2 separate regions of the Homo sapiens genome follow, and region 2 is linked to region 1. Evidence: promoter capture Hi-C in human tissues and cell types (Jung and others, 2019). All regions are on one chromosome and are shown on one strand. The core of a region is centred on a gene start or on the middle of the fragment in contact, and the rest is flanking DNA. Distances in the headings are between cores, read along the strand shown.

The links. The method cuts DNA at HindIII sites, captures the fragments that hold promoters and counts their contacts. A contact is called where the count stands out against the background at its distance.
Region 2: a contact is called between a fragment that was not itself captured here and the fragment with the promoter of IYD in region 1, in 1 of the 25 tissues and cell types used here (IMR-90 fibroblasts).

What each region holds. Positions count from the first base shown.
Region 1 is chr6:150,366,861-150,371,404 of GRCh38, reverse strand. IYD (iodotyrosine deiodinase) reads right to left here and starts at 2,393. Exons shown (of 5, transcript NM_203395.3): 1 at 2,196-2,393. The coding sequence starts at 2,373. The HindIII fragment of the contact is 8,635 bases long and covers 1-4,544 here.
Region 2 is chr6:150,675,817-150,680,360 of GRCh38, reverse strand. All of the region lies in intron 2 of PLEKHG1 (pleckstrin homology and RhoGEF domain containing G1), which reads right to left. Among named protein-coding and RNA genes, the nearest start is that of PLEKHG1, 78 kb to the right of the region's middle. The HindIII fragment of the contact is 6,713 bases long and covers 1-4,544 here.

The DNA of each region.
Region 1 (4,544 bases), core at 1,144-3,643:
TCCATTCTAGGTCATTCTCCCAGGGGAGAGGCAGCCCAGCAAACAGCTGGCTTGGGTCCTATCTCTGCAATCACCTTCCTGAGCTTACCCTATTGGGGCCTCAATTTCCTTATCTGTAATATGGGGATTCTAATAGTGCCTACCTCATTGTACTGTCATGAAGATGAAATGATTTACTACACATAATATGTGGCTGTGATTGCATACATTAAGAGCTATTAATATATAAGGGCTTGTTACTGTTATGATCCCAGAGCCCCCTTTCCCACAGCTCCTCCCTTTCTCTAGTACATTTTTCTTCCACAGTTCCTCTTAACCGCATGTGTCCCTCAAGTTCTATCCTCAGCCTTCTCTCTAGCAATGCCCACTTTGTGGATTCATTATTTCTCCAGGTTCCAAGTATCTTCCCCATACTGGTGACTCTCCAGTCAGTATCTGTGGCCTGGGCCCCTAACATAGACTGCTGTCTCCCTTTTCTGCTCAGGTGTGTCACTGTCGTCTGAAATCAAACATGTCCTCGATGGAACTCAACATCTTCCCCTTTAAGCTGGATCCTCATTCCCTCACCCACTTATGATAGCTTCCAGTCTCCAACTCTCCCTCTCTCCTCCTTTTCCCAATATCCAATTTACTAGCAAACCCTGTTGCTCTTCCATTAACTTTACTCTGATCCACGCCTTCCACTGCATTCCCACCTGCCCCCACCATCCAGGCCATCCTTACCAGCACAAACCATTACCCAGCTTCACAGCAGATGTTCCCTGGATTAAGGGAAGTGCTTCTCCGCTGGGTAGAATTGACGTTCTGAGTGGAAGAGGTTTCAATGTAGGAGAGCAAGAGGCAGCCCTGCTGAGAGGCTAGACTCCTGTACGGTGCAGTCAGCACTACAGGCTGTTAGCACTGAGAGCCAGCTGGACACCCTGCGCCCCGGTCCTGAGATTAGGACACACACTCATGCACACACTCTCTCACAAACACACTCATGCGCACGCACACACACATTCATGCATGCACACACAAACTCATGCATGCTCACACACACTCATGCACACACGTGCACACTCACACGCACACTCACCCACTCGTGCACACACACTCATGCACACACACTCACACATGCACATTAATGAACACTCACATGCACGCGCACACACATCCACTCTCATGCACACACACACACGCACGCGCACACACACATGCACATTCATAAACACACACTCTCACACACATACACTCACACACACTCACATGTCCAGGTGGCCTCTGTTTGGGGATGGGGGCATCATTAGCCCAGCTGAAGATCACAGAGCCTCTTCCAAATCGAACCCATCCCAGACAAAGCTTCTCAAACACAGATGGCTCAAGCTTCCTCCACGCTCTCTCCCTTCCTACCTGCCTCCTTCATCACCTCTTCTTCTCAAGGTGGCCATAACCTTCCCGCCCTCAATTCTCTACTTCCATTCTTACCCTCTCCCTCCACCCTCAATTCTCCACTTCCTCTCTTACCCCTGCCCCAGGCCTCCAGGTGCTTCTGCTCCTTTGGCTCCTTGTTGCCTGACAGGCCTCCCAGCACTTGCTATTTGTACCCTATTCATCCTCCCAGCCTGGTTTGTCCTTTCCCTGACTGCACCGTCAAACTCCCAGGCCTACTCTAAACACCTTAGAATCAGTTCCACCGGGTCTGTCTCTTTGTTACTCTCTCTGATTCTAGTGTATCATCTTGGCAGCTGAACTGGACATTCAGTTTGTTGAGGACAGAGGCCATCCCAGGCTTTCACTTCCAGGGCCTGGCACAGGGAAAGGTAGCAGCCTCCTAGGTGATGCCACTTGGTAGATTTCAAAGTTCCTGATCAAAACCTGGCCTCTTAGTCCCTGCCCACTGCCAGCCTGGGATGAATTCCTGCAGAAAGATTTTAACAACCAGAACAGAATTGTAGCCAGGGAAAACTTCAGCCTCTCAACAGCTTTTTCACTGGGCATCAAAAATAAAAAAGGGTTGGTCCCAGCAGGTGACAAGCTCATCACTGGAGAGAGATGACCTGTCTGTGCCAAGCACTGATTCATTAGCACAATAGAGGTTGATGTTGAAGCTGGCCTGTGTGTGTTTCTTCCTCTCCATAAGCCCTGCCATTGACTCACACTCATCATCAACACAACACGACAGCGAAGCTAAGCAGCATAGCTGGTGTCTTTACCTTCTTCTGCTTGGTGCAGGTCACTGCTGTCTTTTAAGTCTTCATCCACCCAGGGGCGAGCTTCGGCCCTGGTTCTAGGCTCCCCCTTCTTTTTCTCCATGCTTCTGTCGGCATTTTTAAAGATCCACACAACCAAAATGCAGAGAATGGCTACCAAGATGGGAGTCAGGAAATACATGGTCTGGAGTCTGACGTCACAGGCGTGCACACTTCCCACACCGGTTTTTAAACACACAGAGACAGGAGTGGAGAATGCCGGGAGATAGAAGGAATGCAGACACAGGTGTGCCAGGGAAGGAACAAAGTGCAGAACTCTTCAACTCTGTGAGGACTTTGCAAAGGAGCAAAGATCACAGTCACATGTGTGGGGTGTTGTGGCTTTGGTTATACACCAGTCCATTAACTTTTTAAAAGTATGTACTCTGTCGATATATTCTTAGACAACAATTGCCAGAATCTGAGTAAGAACTTGCATGTGCTAGATCTAGCTAGATCACCTGAAGAACTTGTTTTTGTTTTTGTTTTTTTTAAATAGATTTCCACACACCAACTCAGATCTGCTGGAAGAAAATGTTCAGGAAAGAGGTTTGGCACCATGCATTTTAAATGGCATATTTGTGAAAACAGCCCTAGGGTTTTGATTTTTTTTTTATGATACCTGAGCCAATATATGGAGTAAAGAGAATATCATGTTTTGCATCAGAGAAAAACTTTGATCCAGGAAAAGTGACACAAAAAATTAAAGTGACAACTTGATTATGTAATTACTTCAGTAGGGCTTTTTATGTGTTAGTTTGTCTGTCTGTTTTAGAAAGTGCCTTAGTCAGTTATGGCTGAAATAACAAAAATACTATGGACCGGGTGGCTTAAACAATATAAATTTATTTCTCAGCCAGGTATGGTGGCTCATGCCTATAATCCCGGCACTTTGGGAGGCTGAGAGGGGCAGATCACTTGAGGTCAGGAGTTCGAGACCAGCCTGGCCAACATGATGAAACCCCATCTCTACTAAAAATACAAAAATTAGTTGGGCCTGGTGGTACATGCCTGCAAACACAGCTACTCAGGAGGCTGAGGCAGGAAAATAGCTCCACCCAGGAGGTGGAGGTTGCAGTGAGCCGAAATTGTGCCATTGCACTCCAGCCTGGGCGACAAGAGTGAAAGTTCCTCTAAAAAAAAAAAAAGAAAGAAAGAAGAAGAAGAAGAAAAAGAAAAGAAAAGAAAGAAAGAAAGAAAGAAAGAAAGAAAGAAAGAAAGAAAGAAAGAAAGAAATTTATTTATCATTTATTTATCATAGTTCTGGAGGTTGAGAAGTCCATAATTAAGGTGCTGGCAAATCAGCTCCTGGTGAGGGCTCCCCTCCTGGTTTGCCAACAGGTGCCTTCTTGCTGTAACCTCACACAGTGGATGGTGGAAACAGATCATCTCTATCATCTTTTTTCTTATAAGGCCACTAATCTCATTAATGAGGGCTCCACTCTCATCACCTGTTCACCTCCCAAAGGCCCAACCTCCAAATACCATTGTACTGGGGCTTAGGGCTCCAACACATGAATTTTGCCAAGACATATTCAGTCTTTAGCATCAAGGTGCAAACGTATGTATAACATGATGCCATTTGAATAAAACAGAGTGGAAAATATGATACATTTATACAAACTTATATATGTATTTCCTGGAAAAGCATACTCTAAGGAGCGGTTATATCAGGAATTCTCTTTATTAATTTTGCAATTTCTTGTGAGTCTATATTATTTCAAAATAAACAGTGAAAAAAACAGTGGTTACTTGTTTTGGAGGGAGTGTGGAAACTGGATAGATGGGGGACAAGGGTGAGAGAATTTCTACTGAATACTATTCCATAATTTAAGTATTTTGAGCTGTTGTAAATATATTATCTATTTAAAAAATTGAATATGTGTTATTTATTTCAATACTCATTTTGATGGTTTTATTGTATCATATATTGTAATACTCCTTTTTGTGATAGACAGTTGTTTTTTAAGATGTATATCATATTGGTTCTCTAACTCCAGAGAACTCTGTAGAAGATAATAAACAAAGTTTATTATGGAAGCACTGGCCTCCACAGACCATTGAATTTGGTGGTGCTGCCTGCCATGCCGACAGCTTTTGTACAGGAAAGTGCCCTCCCTGTGCCTGCTGAAAGGGTGTCAGAGGGGACATGTCCAGTCCATGTGATCCAACCCCACGCAGGCAGCTGAAAATGGCAGAGCCTGTGTTGGGGCCCAGCTTCTCTTTACATCCCACTAAAAACACAGAATAAAGAAACCACTCCATAGCAAGAGAAGAGCAAGACAAATGTGCAGAGAGAAGCAAGGCCTGCAA
Region 2 (4,544 bases), core at 685-3,184, 310 kb before region 1:
GTGGGGTTCTGCAAACCAGAAATTTCAGAGCCATCCTTTCCACCTTTTTTCCATCACTCCACATATTCAAATCATTACCACCTCTAGTCAATTTCTTTACTTCTTAATTCACTTGCATGTCACTTCCTTTTCTCCATCTCTACCCTGGTCATCTTCCATCTGTACTAGTATAACATTCTACTAAATATTCTCTGGAGGGGAGAACTATAGTGCCATGATCATTCAAATGGCAGACCTGATGTCACCCTATCCTTACCCCATCAGCTGAAAACTCTTCCATGCCTCTTCATTTCTTCTAGAATAAGGATCACAACCTGTATGTAACCTGGCCTCCAGCACTCACATGTTCCCATCCTGGCCCCCTTGCTGACTTTACTGGCCTTCTCTCCCATACCATGCCAGACACACCACTCATCTCTAAGTCCCTCCAAAGCTCACTGTCTCTCCACATTGCTTTTCTGCCCCCGCCTCAGTTCCTGCTCACCTGTCAGACCTCAGCATGGCGATCACCTCCTCATGACAATGCCTACCTGTATTTTTTTTTCCTTTATGGCATTTATAATTACAATGAATATCTGGCTTACAGCCATCTCTCCTACTAGTCTAGTTTAATATACTGATGGGGTGGCAGGGAAAGCGCATGTGTTTTTTTGCCTGCATCAAATTCCCACAGCCTGAAACAGCACCTGGCACAGAGTACATACTCAACGAATGCTTGCTGAATGACTGAATGAACAACTATACTGCCCTGAGGACTTTGGTATAATTAGTGTGGGTGATATTTCTATCACAGCTGTTGTAATTTTTTAAAGTATGCTATTGCTTATAATTAGGTAAAGAAGCAAGCCTGTAATTATGAACTCATTCCCATGGGAAAACATGATTTGCTTTATGATAACTACTTTATTTTATGGATTCTTCAAAGAGAACACTTTGGTGAAAAGTGAGCTGCCTGTATTTCTCCCTTACTTACATTTAATATTCACATCTTCTCTGCCCTGAGAAATGCTATATTGCTGAACATAGCCATGAAGTTCAAGAAATTTAACAAATAACTAAATATCTCTTTGGAGCTTAATATTTATTATATGATTACAACTTACGTTAAATTATATTAAAAGCTATTATTAAGAACAGAGCGACTCAGAAAAGTCAAGGCAATGGTGCTTACTCATGCCAAACCTTTAAAATCCTACAAACATGATTTCTGTATTTATTTTCTCCTCTATATCAAAGCAAGGCAAGGCTACCATACATCATTATGGCACTTTCACTCACACACACAATTTAATAAGAGTTTAAAATTTTGATTTTGTAGAAAATTGCTCATTAATATTGTTTTTTCAGAGATTTATTACTTATTTTCTCAGCAATGAAAGTTAATGAATTTAGGCTGATTTCTAGTTTATAATTAATTGATATTCAGAGATTTCAGGTTTTAAAACTGCAATATCAGTGATAACCTAATATGATAAAACCCAGGTTTTCTAATCATATTTAAAAATCACCTAGAAATATTTTGTCTTTAATTCACATATTCATTTGCTCATGATTGGTTAGAACCAATTCCTAACAACACCTCAAGATTTGGCCATTGGAAATAACCATCTTTAGCAAAGCCTTTGTTATTTGTAATTCAACCCTGAAATGTGAACACTATAAAATTTTAGAACTCTACATTAGATTGGTGCAGAACCTTAAGCCAGAGAGTATGCCAACATTTCTTTCTCTATTTTAAAGAGTATGTGGATTAATTACAAGGTGCTGACTGACCTGGATTAATCTTTACCCCTGCCTGCACAAAATTAATTCCTACTATTTACATCAGTTAGATTAGGTCAAGATGGGTAATTCAGGCTGAACCTAATATAAAAACTCCTGTTTCCTAGGGCATCTGAAGTTAACACAGATCTAGTGAAACAATTCCTGCTTATATATTAATGGCATAAAGAGTTAGATTTCTCCCTGCTCACTTTGTAGAGTTGTGAAAGCTATTCAGGCACTGCTTAAATTTAGGTGTTCATTGGGAATAGTTTTAAAACACTCAGCTATGGTGGAGGGGCCTGGGTGGGCAAGGAGAGATGTTGTTCAAGTGGTCTGAAGTTTCAGTGGGACAGGAGGAACAGGCTCTGGTGATCCATTACACAGCATGGTGACTGTAGTTAATGGTAACGTATTGTAGACCTCAAAAGAGCTAAAAGAATGGATTTTAAATGTCCTGACCACAAAGAACAGCCTGATTTGATCATTCCACAACATATATATATATATATATATATATATATATATATATATATGCATCAAAACATCACATTGTATCCCATAAATATATACAATTATTATCAATTAAAAATAACACTAAAAAACACTTTGCTACAAAAAGTCAGGGAACACATTGACCTATGACCTATTTTGTTGCATTTTGCCTTTATGCATAATATAATACTTGTACTGACTTATTTATTTATTTGTTTATTTATTTTGGAGACAGGGTCTCACTCTGTCACCCAGGCTGGAGTACAGTGGCATAATTACAGGTCACTGTAACCCTGAACTCCCAGGCTCAAGTGACCCGCCCTCCTCAATCTCCCAAGTAGCTGGGACTACAGGTGTGCACCACCGTGTCCAGCTAATTTAAACTTTCTTTTTCTTTTTTAGAGACGGGATCTCACTATGTTGCCTAGGTTGGCCTTGAATTCCTGGCCTCAAGTGATCCTCTTGCCTCAGCTTCCCAAAGCACTGACAGCATTCTACATGAGGGGTATGTATCAGGTGTGTGAACATAAGTGGGCCCCCAACTGAGTCTTGTGTCTGCATGTGTCAGGAAGGGACCTAGATCATAAAGATGTCCCTAGAAGGGATGACATATGAATTGAGTCTGGAAGAACAAACAGGCATAAATAGGAGTCAGCCAGCCTGGAGTCATGGGATGGGGTGAGAAATCAGTGTAGGCTTTTAAGGAGAGGGAGTGCCATGTGCAAAGACTCATGGTGCCTATCCAGTGAAACTCCAAGCAATGCAGTAGGGTAGAAACTGGTGGTGTGTGTGCGCGCGCGCGTGTGTGTGTGTGTGTGTATAGGGGAAGAAACAAGAGACAAGACTGTAGAGGTTAGTAGGCACCAGGCCACATAGGGTCTTATGTATCCAGTAAAGACTTTGGACTGAATGTTTTAAATGGAGGAGTACCATAATCAATCAGATCTGCATTTTGAAAAGACAACTCTCAATGAAGTTGGAAAACAGACCAGAGGAAGAAACAATGCAAGTATGGAGATAGACACCTGCTAAGGAAGAGGTGGTGGCAGCCTGGATAAAGGCAGCGCAGGGAGAATGCCTATAGTTTGAGAATTGATGAGGTGGTGGCAGCCTGGATAAAGGCAGCTGCAGGGAGAATGCCTATAGTTTGAGAATTGATTGGATGGGGCTGGGCTATGAAGGAGAGGGAGGAGGGAGGGAAAGGCTGAAGCTTGTGGTTAAGGCACCTTGGGGCTGGCATTGCCATTCACTCCCAGGGTATGCATAGAAGAACGGGAGAGAGTTGGTTATAGGGTGGTGGGTGACTCAGGAAAATAATGAGTTCTACATTTTTAGATATGTAGGCTGTCACTAAGTATTTTTTCTCATTATAATTAATTCCATGAAGACATTTTTGAACATGAATTATGTTAGTGCCTTTAAGTTGCACCAGCTTCACCTTCAGGGTAGAATCTGTCTCCTTCATCTCCATTTCTCACAGCTTCTAGCACTGCAGTTGCTCAATAAGTTCTTGTCTCATGACACCGTCGGGATAAACTGCCAGGAAGGAAGAGCTACAGCAGGTTCAAAGGGTAAGACTGTCATCATCCTTATTATATACTGTCAGGTTTTCTCCAAAAGGATTACATAGTTTACACGGTTAACAGTAATGCATGAATATAACCTGTTTCTCCACAACCTGTCCCTTGTTGATTTTTGACTTCCGTTTATTTGATAGGTGTAAAATGTTTCCATTTTAAAATGTATTTGAGTGTTATTTTCAGATTTGGTTTCCTATTTGTTTTCCTTTGTGTAATAGCCGGTTTTATCCTTGGACCACTTATCCAATTAGAATCTGACGTTGTGCTCACATTTATATAAATTCTTGTGTGGGCACATGAATTAAGTCTCCAATTGTTGCTGTGCATATTTTCCCATTTTGTTGCTTTCATTACGTTCTAGTTCTAAAAGGTTTTAAACTTCATATCAATAAATATGTGCATCTTTGCCCTTTTCAATTTTCTCCTCCTTCAAAAAAATTTTCTTCTTTACAGCTGAAACTGTGCTACTGCAAATCTGTAATTCTTTAGTTCATTGGGAGTTCACTGTGATATATTATATGGCTTGTGGTCTGAATCTTGAATTTTTTTCTTTTGAATTATATCTTGTATTAGTAACTATTTTTACTCACTTTTTACTCGTTTCATCTATGTTTTGTAGGTATTTAATGATATCTGCAATAAATGTTTATACAGTTTCTTTTTTGCTACTTAATTTCATCTTCTTAGATTTAAATAATCCTCATGCTT